Linked DNA regions of Homo sapiens: regions 2 and 3 are each linked to region 1. Evidence: promoter capture Hi-C in 16 types of primary human blood cells and fetal thymus (Javierre and others, 2016). All regions are on one chromosome and are shown on one strand. The core of a region is centred on a gene start or on the middle of the fragment in contact, and the rest is flanking DNA. Distances in the headings are between cores, read along the strand shown.

Region 1 (2,953 bases), core at 296-2,795:
TATTAAAATAAAAATGCTGATAAGTTTATCTTTCTCTCTCTGGCCCTCATTTAGTCAGCACGAAGTTACACAATGTGCAAAAGTGAACACAGATAGAAACGTAAAGGAGGTAAAGTGTTCCAAAAAGATCAAATGAATCAAAAAGCTCTGAAACAGACTTGGTAAAGACACCAGAGTTGTTTTTTTTTTACCCCTCCCCCCCCCACTTTAAAAGGCAGCAACCGGAATAAATCAAGATAAAAACAGAATCACAAAAATAGTGCAGGACTGTGCAGATTAAAACTTTACAATTTTCAACGTCAAACTGCAATATGATAAAGCAACAATATTACTTAAACTGTTTATGAATATTTTTTCTCTAACAATCCAAGTCAACTTCATATAAAACACAAAGTTTCTGTACCAGCAAAAATACAAATGCTAATGAAACTTGGGCTTCTAAGGTATTATTACAAATCAGACTTAACTGTCTTAGATTTCATAAGCTTAACCCAATCCACAGCACGTTAATATACCCAATGAAGCAGTCTTAAGAATAACGCTATAGTGTGACACATGGGGAATTACCAAAGAACAACTTAAAGTATACTGACACAGGGAGAAATAAGCGGTTCTGATGATTCAAAGTTACACTCGTCTCACAGACCTAGTAATGACGCTAAAGGGAACTTTAGTGACACACCCAGCGCCGACCGCCACGTTAAGGATACAGCTCTTCCGAGGTGGAGAGGGCTCTCGCCAGCTCTGACTGCTGCTGAACCCGGATCCTGCTCCTCCTCCCAGAGGAGGTCTGCACCCCGGCTTGCCTCCTCGCTCACCCACTCCTCGCCCCCGACTCCAGCGACTCCCACCCCGGTAAGGCCTGCCTCGAAAGCGGAAACGGTCCAAGGCGAGGTGGCTCCGCTCCCAGAAAGACGGCCGGGGACTGCTTTCGGACAGTGAGCTCGAAGGCATCCGTACAGAAGGCGGATGAGACCGGAACGGTTCTTTGGGTCGGTAGCTGCTGGGTCCCCTGAGGTGGCCCCGCTCAGACGCGTGCCGCGAGCGTGAGAAATTCCTCAGCTGCTGCTGAGAAGAGGACGATGACGAGGAAGAGCCACCGCCTCCGCCAGATCCACCGCCCCGGGCCGAGTGAGGAGGCCTTCGCCGCGGATAGGGTAACAGCCCGCCGCCGCTGCTGCTGCTGCTGCTCCGACTCCGTATCTGGCTGTTATTATCGTCGTCACTGATTTCCCCATCTTCAAGCTCCCCTTCTTCCTTCGGCGAGAGGCCACTGGAGGCCGGGGCCGGAGTATCTGCGGTCGCCATCCGGGGAGCAGCGCCTTCCACACAACCTTAGCCCTCCGTCCGGGGATCCGCCCGACAATTGCCTCGTTTCCCTTCTTTCCTAACGGACTGGGTCGGTGCGGTCTTACCCTACTCGGACACCAAGCGGCCTCTGCTCCCCAACTTCCCCGCACCCCAGCACCCCAGCTCTCTCTCGCCGGACCGTCGCAACCCAGTTCCCTTTCCTAGCGCCCCCTTGCTCCTCAGCGATCGGGGTTCTTCCGCCTCGCGAGAAAGGGACTCTGGTAGCGGCTGTACCCGAAACGTCACTTCCTGCGACACGCAGGAAACAAAGGCTCCCAGTTCACGCGATAATAAGACCAACTCGATACTCACTAGGATTTGTAGTCTTTCGTCTTTCTTCGGGTTTACTCTTCCGGTCCTAGGGTCACACCCACCGCAGGGTCTGGCTTGGTACAGTTGGGTGCATGCAGAAGTAGGTGGAGCTGCTGTTGCAGCCTTGAGAGAGTTTTATTGTAAAACTCTTGTAATTTATAGTAATCGGAGGGGAAAACACCTCTTCCTTTTAATTGCTCTGAGGACCGCTGCCAAAGAAACGCAGTAGATCCGCTCCCTCTTGGGGGCGGGGAGAAAGAACGGGTTGTGTCCGCCATGTTGGTGAAGTCAAGCGAAGGCGACTAGAGCTCCAGGAGGGCCAGTTCTGTGGGCTCTAGTCGGCCATATTAATAAAGAGAAAGGGAAGGCTGACCGTCCTTCGCCTCCGCCCCCACATACACACCCCTTCTTCCCACTCCGCTCTCACGACTAAGCTCTCACGATTAAGGCACGCCTGCCTCGATTGTCCAGCCTCTGCCAGAAGAAAGCTTAGCAGCCAGCGCCTCAGTAGAGACCTAAGGGCGCTGAATGAGTGGGAAAGGGAAATGCCGACCAATTGCGCTGCGGCGGGCTGTGCCACTACCTACAACAAGCACATTAACATCAGCTTCCACAGGTAACCTGGGCAGGGAGTGGGGGTGACGGAAACTGGAGTTCCTATTGTGGCTATCGCTTGTGTGGAAGGAACAGGAGGATTCTGCTAATTCTAATAACTTTCCCAGCTGGTAGCAGGGAAGCATCGTATGTCCTTTGTGTTTCTCAAATCTGCCCAATTGTTCTCTGCTTTCGGGGAAGCTTTACTCATTTTCTAAAAGAAATCCAAGTACTGTTTGGTCATTACCCCTTAGTAAAAAAAAGTAACAGGAGGATATCGTAATTTTCTACTGTTTTATTCCTCTGTTAGACCGGGCCTTGACATGAATGACGCCGTAAGGGAGAAAGAGATCTTCCCAATCAGCAATCACCGTAAAAGCCTGCTGTGTTCCCGTTAAAATTAGGAAATTCTCACTAGATGAATTGACATGGGAGGCATTTAGATTTCTAATAGTCACATAGTAATTCTGCGGAGGAATTGAGTCATCTTTGATAGCCATGGAATTAAGCGATGTTAATTAAAGTGCAAAAGATAACCTTTCTGTTCTTACTAGAATAGAGTAATAAAAAGAACCTAGGTTTTCTTTTGTTTGCTGGAAGAAAAATCAAAATTCTTTAGTTCTGTCAAACCAGAACTCTTGAAAGCACTTTGAACAATGCCTGGAAAATAACAGGTACTCTGTAAATGTTTACCTTC
Region 2 (2,700 bases), core at 158-2,657, about 24 Mb after region 1:
ATAGGAACAAGTGTTCAACTAAGTCACTGGTAGAGCAATATCCAAAATCCTTCATTATTTTTTTTTCATGGCTCTATTTTGGAAGAAACACAACTCAAAAAATAATAAGCCATTATATTATGGTCTACTCCAATGTGAAATAAGTGCATGACATTTGGCAATAAATCTAGCACCTTTGGATCTTAATACTGCATCAACAGTCAGACCCAAAGCTTCTTAGAGCAAAGCAGCAAATCTTTTATTTACACAGCTGTTTGGCTCCAGGGAAATATAAGGTAAGAAAGTAAAGCACTAGTACCATTTTACTAACTATTACAAACATACTCGTCATCTGTTACACACAGATGGCTGTGGTTCACGTGTACACTCTCTGGCTACTGGACCAGCCAAAACGCAAAGCACAGACAATGAAGACAGTGACCTGTACATGTTCAAAAGGACACAAAATATATACCTATATATACCTATAATTCTCTCTCCTTTTTTCTTTTTTTTTTTTTTTTTTTGAGATGGAGTCTTGCTCTGTCACCCAGGCTAGAGTGCAGTGGCTCGATCTCGGCTCACCACAACCTCCGCCTCGCTGGCTCAAGCAATTTTCATATCAGCCTCCCGAATAGCTGGGACTACAGGCGCACCCCACCACACCTGGCTAATTTTTGTATTTTTAGTAGAGACAGGGTTTTGCCATGTTGGCCAGGCTGGTCTCAAACTCCTGACCTCAAGTGATCCACCCGCCTTGGCCTCCCAAAGTGATGGAATTACAGGCTTGAGCCACTGCGCCCAGCCTCTCCTTTTTCATATACAGCTTAAAATAATTCTGAAATCTCCACTAAGGGCAGATTATTTTATAGATGTAGAAAAACAAAGCAAGCTTTTCTGCTGGATACATATAACCTAGATGTTCTACAACATTCCTTTTATTTTCTTAAATTAAACCAACCCTTCCAAATACCACAGATTAGATTCAAAAGCAAAAATCCCCTCCCTTAACTTCAAGTAACTTTCCTAAACGTTTCAATGAATTTGACTATTGTTCCCAAAAAGCACCATAATCAGCTTGTAAGAACTATGTATACATATAAGAATGGGTAGAAATAAAACCCCAGTTCTCTTCCATATTCCCCATCTAGACACCAGAAAGAATTATGATAAATCCAACAGATGGGTGAGCAAAAAAGTAGTTGATGCTTCTCAGCCAGCAATGCTAAAAACCAACCAACTCGGCTAGACACAGGAAGTGTCCCACTTTAAACACCACAAAAATTTCTGTGGATTTCTTTAATTGTAAAGTTGATAAAATACAAAAATAGCTTGCATTATTTTAGGATAATTCAAATGCAAGAATCATGAACTTCCAGTCTGGGCCCTAGAAATTGGGTTTACATAAATGTGAAATTACATGCTTCTGTGCCTGTTCCTTATAAACTGTTAAGACTGGAATTGAAAACTGATACATATAAGACACGGTTATTTTAAATACATTTGACACCTCCAAAAAGGAAAGAGCTAAAACTGGCTGGAAGGATTTTAAAATTTCCAACCACTTTTAATTTAAATCAATTTCTTGAACGAAGGTAAGGCACAGAAATGTAGGATGAAAATAATTTACCTTATGTAAGTATAAAGCCTCCCTTTGGCAAAGAAAAGAGAGTTTATAAAGATATCTCATATAAGTGCATATAACATCAAAAAGGAAAGACCCACACAACACCCACTTCTTGCTTTCTTTTCCTATTGGCTAACTTCTTGTTTCGTTTGTTGTAATCTGATCACAGGGAGCAATGCAACACTACAATATATCTAGGCTTTAGAAATAATACAAATCAGAACATTTGAGTGCTGTTGGACAGTTTCAAGTTGCAAGAATTTTAAACAAATGCCAAGAAAAGCAATGAAAATTTAATCTGATACTTAAGTGCTGATTCTGGAAGTAACCTTGAGAAGAAGCTTTAAACTATTTCACTATAAAATTTCTAATGAAAGTTTCAACGTGGACAAAAACGTAAAATAACCCATAACACTCTACTTAATACATAAGTTCTGGTTTAAAAATTAACCTATGTACTTACGAAGTGAACGTAACACCACTTTGGTAATTATTTTGTAAAACAGAAATTGTTCCTTAAGAATGTTCAGAAACACAACGTCTAGAATTGCTGAAAATCCACACAAAGATAGAGGCTTTGTCATTTGGATGAAGGGGAAAGAACTATGGGAGGCAGACAGAAAATAAAGCTTTGTTTACCCTAATCAGGTAGAAACAAACAAAATAATTGTAATTGGGTGCAGACAAGCAAAAAAAAAAAAAAAAAAAAAACCTCAACAATCTCAACTCCTCTGCTTCTCAGGTAACAGAGGTAAAACCACCAGGACATGACAATGTCTACGCCTCTTTAAAATGGGTAAAAGGTTTACCAGCAGATACAAGGTTGAAAGCGACTCACTTAGTGGCCAAATTGAACACGCTGAGAACACTGCCTTTACCTATAATAACTGATCTATTAACTTGGGAATCTACACTATTTTCACATGCAAAGGCGAAGTCCTCGCACTGCTGGAGAGATGAGCGAACGCCCTTCACACATCGCATTTCACCTGGTGCAGAGCCCCCAGCACAGTCCCCCTTGGAAGGGAGATCCCGAGAAATCCCGGGTTTCCAAACAGCCCCTCTGGGCAGGAAAAGACGAGAAAGCCGGCAGC
Region 3 (2,736 bases), core at 199-2,698, about 27 Mb after region 1:
GAAGATAAAAACATTTGCCTATGTGTCCAGGGAAGCTGTGAGGACAAAAAACCAAGCAACTTTTACAAGGGATCATAAAAACCTACCTAACAACTTGCTAATTAAAACCTGATTTTTAATTTGCATTATTGAGCTTAATACCATTGCTTAAATGTATGTGAATACTGAGATTTTTATAAAGGAATTAGTTACCTCTAGGAAAATAATTATCACTAAAAGAAATAATATCGCAATTTGAATAAAAGTAAGTCGCTTAAATCATAGGAAACATTTTTAGTGAAGGCGTTTGTTTTAAATGTATTCTAACCTAGCAATGTAGAAAGCAGGCAAACATTTAAAAAAAATTTAACCAGTTTCTAAAACATAGTTTGGAGCTCAGATTCTGGGGAAATGATTAACACACCCTACATCCAAGGTCTCCTTTCCTTTCTAGAAAGAAAGCATCTTTAAACATACATATTCATCAGAAATACAAATATTTGTCATCAGTGATACTAATTTCCAGGCAAACATTTTAATTGCAGTCAATGTATTAGATTCTACCAGGTTTTAATTTGGATCGGTAATACGGGTTTGATTAGGGTTCTAGGCCTAATTATAGGTCACTAGTCTTCCTTTAGGATTATGCACCATCTGTTATTTTAAATTGACCATTGAGGGGGTTCCCAAGGGTTCTCCTTCGTTTTGTTATCAAACGTTAGGTTTAGGATTCTTGCGGGTGGTGGGATCCAAAGCCAGAGACGGTTTCAACAAAAATGCAAGCGCGAATTTGTCTTGCGTCTGAACGCACTGTTCAAATTAAACAATTTAGACATGCCCCAACTATGACACTAAGAAGTGAATGGTATAGTACACTTTTGTCACAAATTCAAGGGTAATTTAAGTGCCCGATTGTAGAGGTCTGGCTTCCCCTGGGTTTCTGGAACAAAAGAAGCGTTCGCGAGGAGAGGGGTAACTCCCCGCCCTCCCCCTCCCAAAGTAAATCAAATCAAGGAATATGAGTGCCTGCAGACAAGCCTCGCTTCTTTTCTTCCCCTTCAGGGCTAGCGTTTGGGGAAGGCAAGGCTGCGGCTACTCTTGGAGCTTCAGTGTCCCGGGAGGAAGAAAGGCCCAGCCAAGGGTCCTCACACTGGCGTGGAATTCGGCGCGTTCGTAGGCGATCGACCCCAGAGACGAAAGCTGCTTCTCAAGCTGGGGGAGGGAGAGGAAACGGCGCACAAAAGCAGTACGACCTGTCCCTTATCGGCGTCTAAGGGGAAGGGTGGAGAAAACGAAAACAGAAGCGGGCCGGGAGCCTCGGCTCCCGCCCCAGCGCCTTTTAAACTGCGTTTCTACCTCCTCTCGCTCAGCGCGGCGGCTAATGGAACCCGCGCGAGCCGTCTCGCCAATCACCGCCGCGCTTCCTCCCGTCGCCCGCCAATGGCGGCGCGCGTTCTTGGGGCGTGGGCGAAGCAGGCTGCTCGCCTCCTGCCTGTAGTGTGTGGGCTGGGGTTGGTGCGAGCTTCCAGCTTGGCCGCAGTTGGTTCGTAGTTCGGCTCTGGGGTCTTTTGTGTCCGGGTCTGGCTTGGCTTTGTGTCCGCGAGTTTTTGTTCCGCTCCGCAGCGCTCTTCCCGGGCAGGAGCCGTGAGGCTCGGAGGCGGCAGCGCGGTCCCCGGCCAGGAGCAAGCGCGCCGGCGTGAGCGGCGGCGGCAAAGGCTGTGGGGAGGGGGCTTCGCAGATCCCCGAGATGCCGGAGTTCCTGGAAGACCCCTCGGTCCTGACAAAAGACAAGTTGAAGAGTGAGTTGGTCGCCAACAATGTGACGCTGCCGGCCGGGGAGCAGCGCAAAGACGTGTACGTCCAGCTCTACCTGCAGCACCTCACGGCTCGCAACCGGCCGCCGCTCCCCGCCGGCACCAACAGCAAGGGGCCCCCGGACTTCTCCAGTGACGAAGAGCGCGAGCCCACCCCGGTCCTCGGCTCTGGGGCCGCCGCCGCGGGCCGGAGCCGAGCAGCCGTCGGCAGGGTAAGGACGCGGGGCCGGGGCTACAAAGGCGGGCGTTTGGCGGTTGCCGCGCGCGCTCGCCGCCGTTTGCAGCCCCTCCCTCCCGGGCGCCCCCTCGGGCCTCCCAGGTGCGGGGCTGTCCCTGCGCCCCCTCGCGTCGCCCCTTCCCCGCGGGGCTGCAGGCGCCGGAGCGGAGAGGCCAGAAGTTGGGGCCGCGGGGTTCGCGTTCTTTGACGTGTGGGTCTGGGAGGTGTGGAGTTGCGTTGGCGGCGGTTGTTTTGCACGCAGTCGACGCCGCTTCCCTGGACCACCAGCCGCCTGCAGCGGGCGTTTAGACGGGGACTTCCGTGCCCTTTCGAAAGCTCTGGAGGGGTGGCCCCAAAATGCTATAGGTTAAGTTCGAGCGTTTTCCCGCTTTATTAACTGAAATGACTCGCAGCAGAGTCTCAGAGCGCTCCCTGGAGGGCAACTGATGACACTCTAATTTCTAACCAAAATTTGAAATGAGGAAATTCCCGCCTTTTTATACTTTTGCGTGTGGAGGGCTTTTTGAACCGTTTATGTTTTCTAGTTTGTTTTAATTTTTCCCAGCAACAGGCCATCTTTTGGCGGAACAGGTTCATGCCGAATTAAAAGGAGCATTTTAAACTATATTTTTAGGCGCCTATTATAATTTTTTAGTTTTTATTTATTTATTTTTTTAGATGGAGTGTCGCACTTGTTGCCCAGGCTGGAGTGCAATGGCGAGATCT

The links. The method cuts DNA at HindIII sites, captures the fragments that hold promoters and counts their contacts. A CHiCAGO score of 5 or more calls a contact.
Region 2: a fragment that was not itself captured here is called in contact with the fragment with the promoter of ZFC3H1 in region 1 in 1 of 17 cell types (total CD4 T cells); the score reaches 6.6 in total CD4 T cells.
Region 3: the fragment with the promoter of TMPO here is called in contact with the fragment with the promoter of ZFC3H1 in region 1 in 3 of 17 cell types (activated CD4 T cells, fetal thymus and naive CD4 T cells); the score reaches 14.0 in activated CD4 T cells.

The regions. Positions count from the first base shown.
Region 1 is chr12:71,662,303-71,665,255 of GRCh38, forward strand. It overlaps ZFC3H1 (zinc finger C3H1-type containing), which reads right to left and starts at 1,546. Exons shown (of 35, transcript NM_144982.5): 1 at 711-1,546. The coding sequence starts at 1,308. It overlaps THAP2 (THAP domain containing 2), which reads left to right and starts at 1,999. Exons shown (of 3, transcript NM_031435.4): 1 at 1,999-2,278. The coding sequence starts at 2,208. RefSeq lists enhancers at 1,169-1,288, 1,641-2,199, 1,649-2,008. The HindIII fragment of the contact is 1,665 bases long and covers 484-2,148 here.
Region 2 is chr12:95,214,375-95,217,074 of GRCh38, forward strand. The region is part of intron 1 of FGD6 (FYVE, RhoGEF and PH domain containing 6); the gene reads right to left. Among named protein-coding and RNA genes, the nearest start is that of FGD6, 1.7 kb to the right of the region's middle. The HindIII fragment of the contact is 1,076 bases long and covers 870-1,945 here.
Region 3 is chr12:98,514,142-98,516,877 of GRCh38, forward strand. TMPO (thymopoietin) reads left to right here and starts at 1,449. Exons shown (of 9, transcript NM_001032283.3): 1 at 1,449-2,005. The coding sequence starts at 1,727. It overlaps TMPO-AS1 (TMPO antisense RNA 1), which reads right to left and starts at 2,085. Exons shown (of 2, transcript NR_027157.1): 1 at 1,850-2,085; 2 at 1-1,756. RefSeq lists enhancers at 1,069-1,148, 1,409-1,598 and a silencer at 1,939-2,208. The HindIII fragment of the contact is 4,246 bases long and covers 1-2,736 here.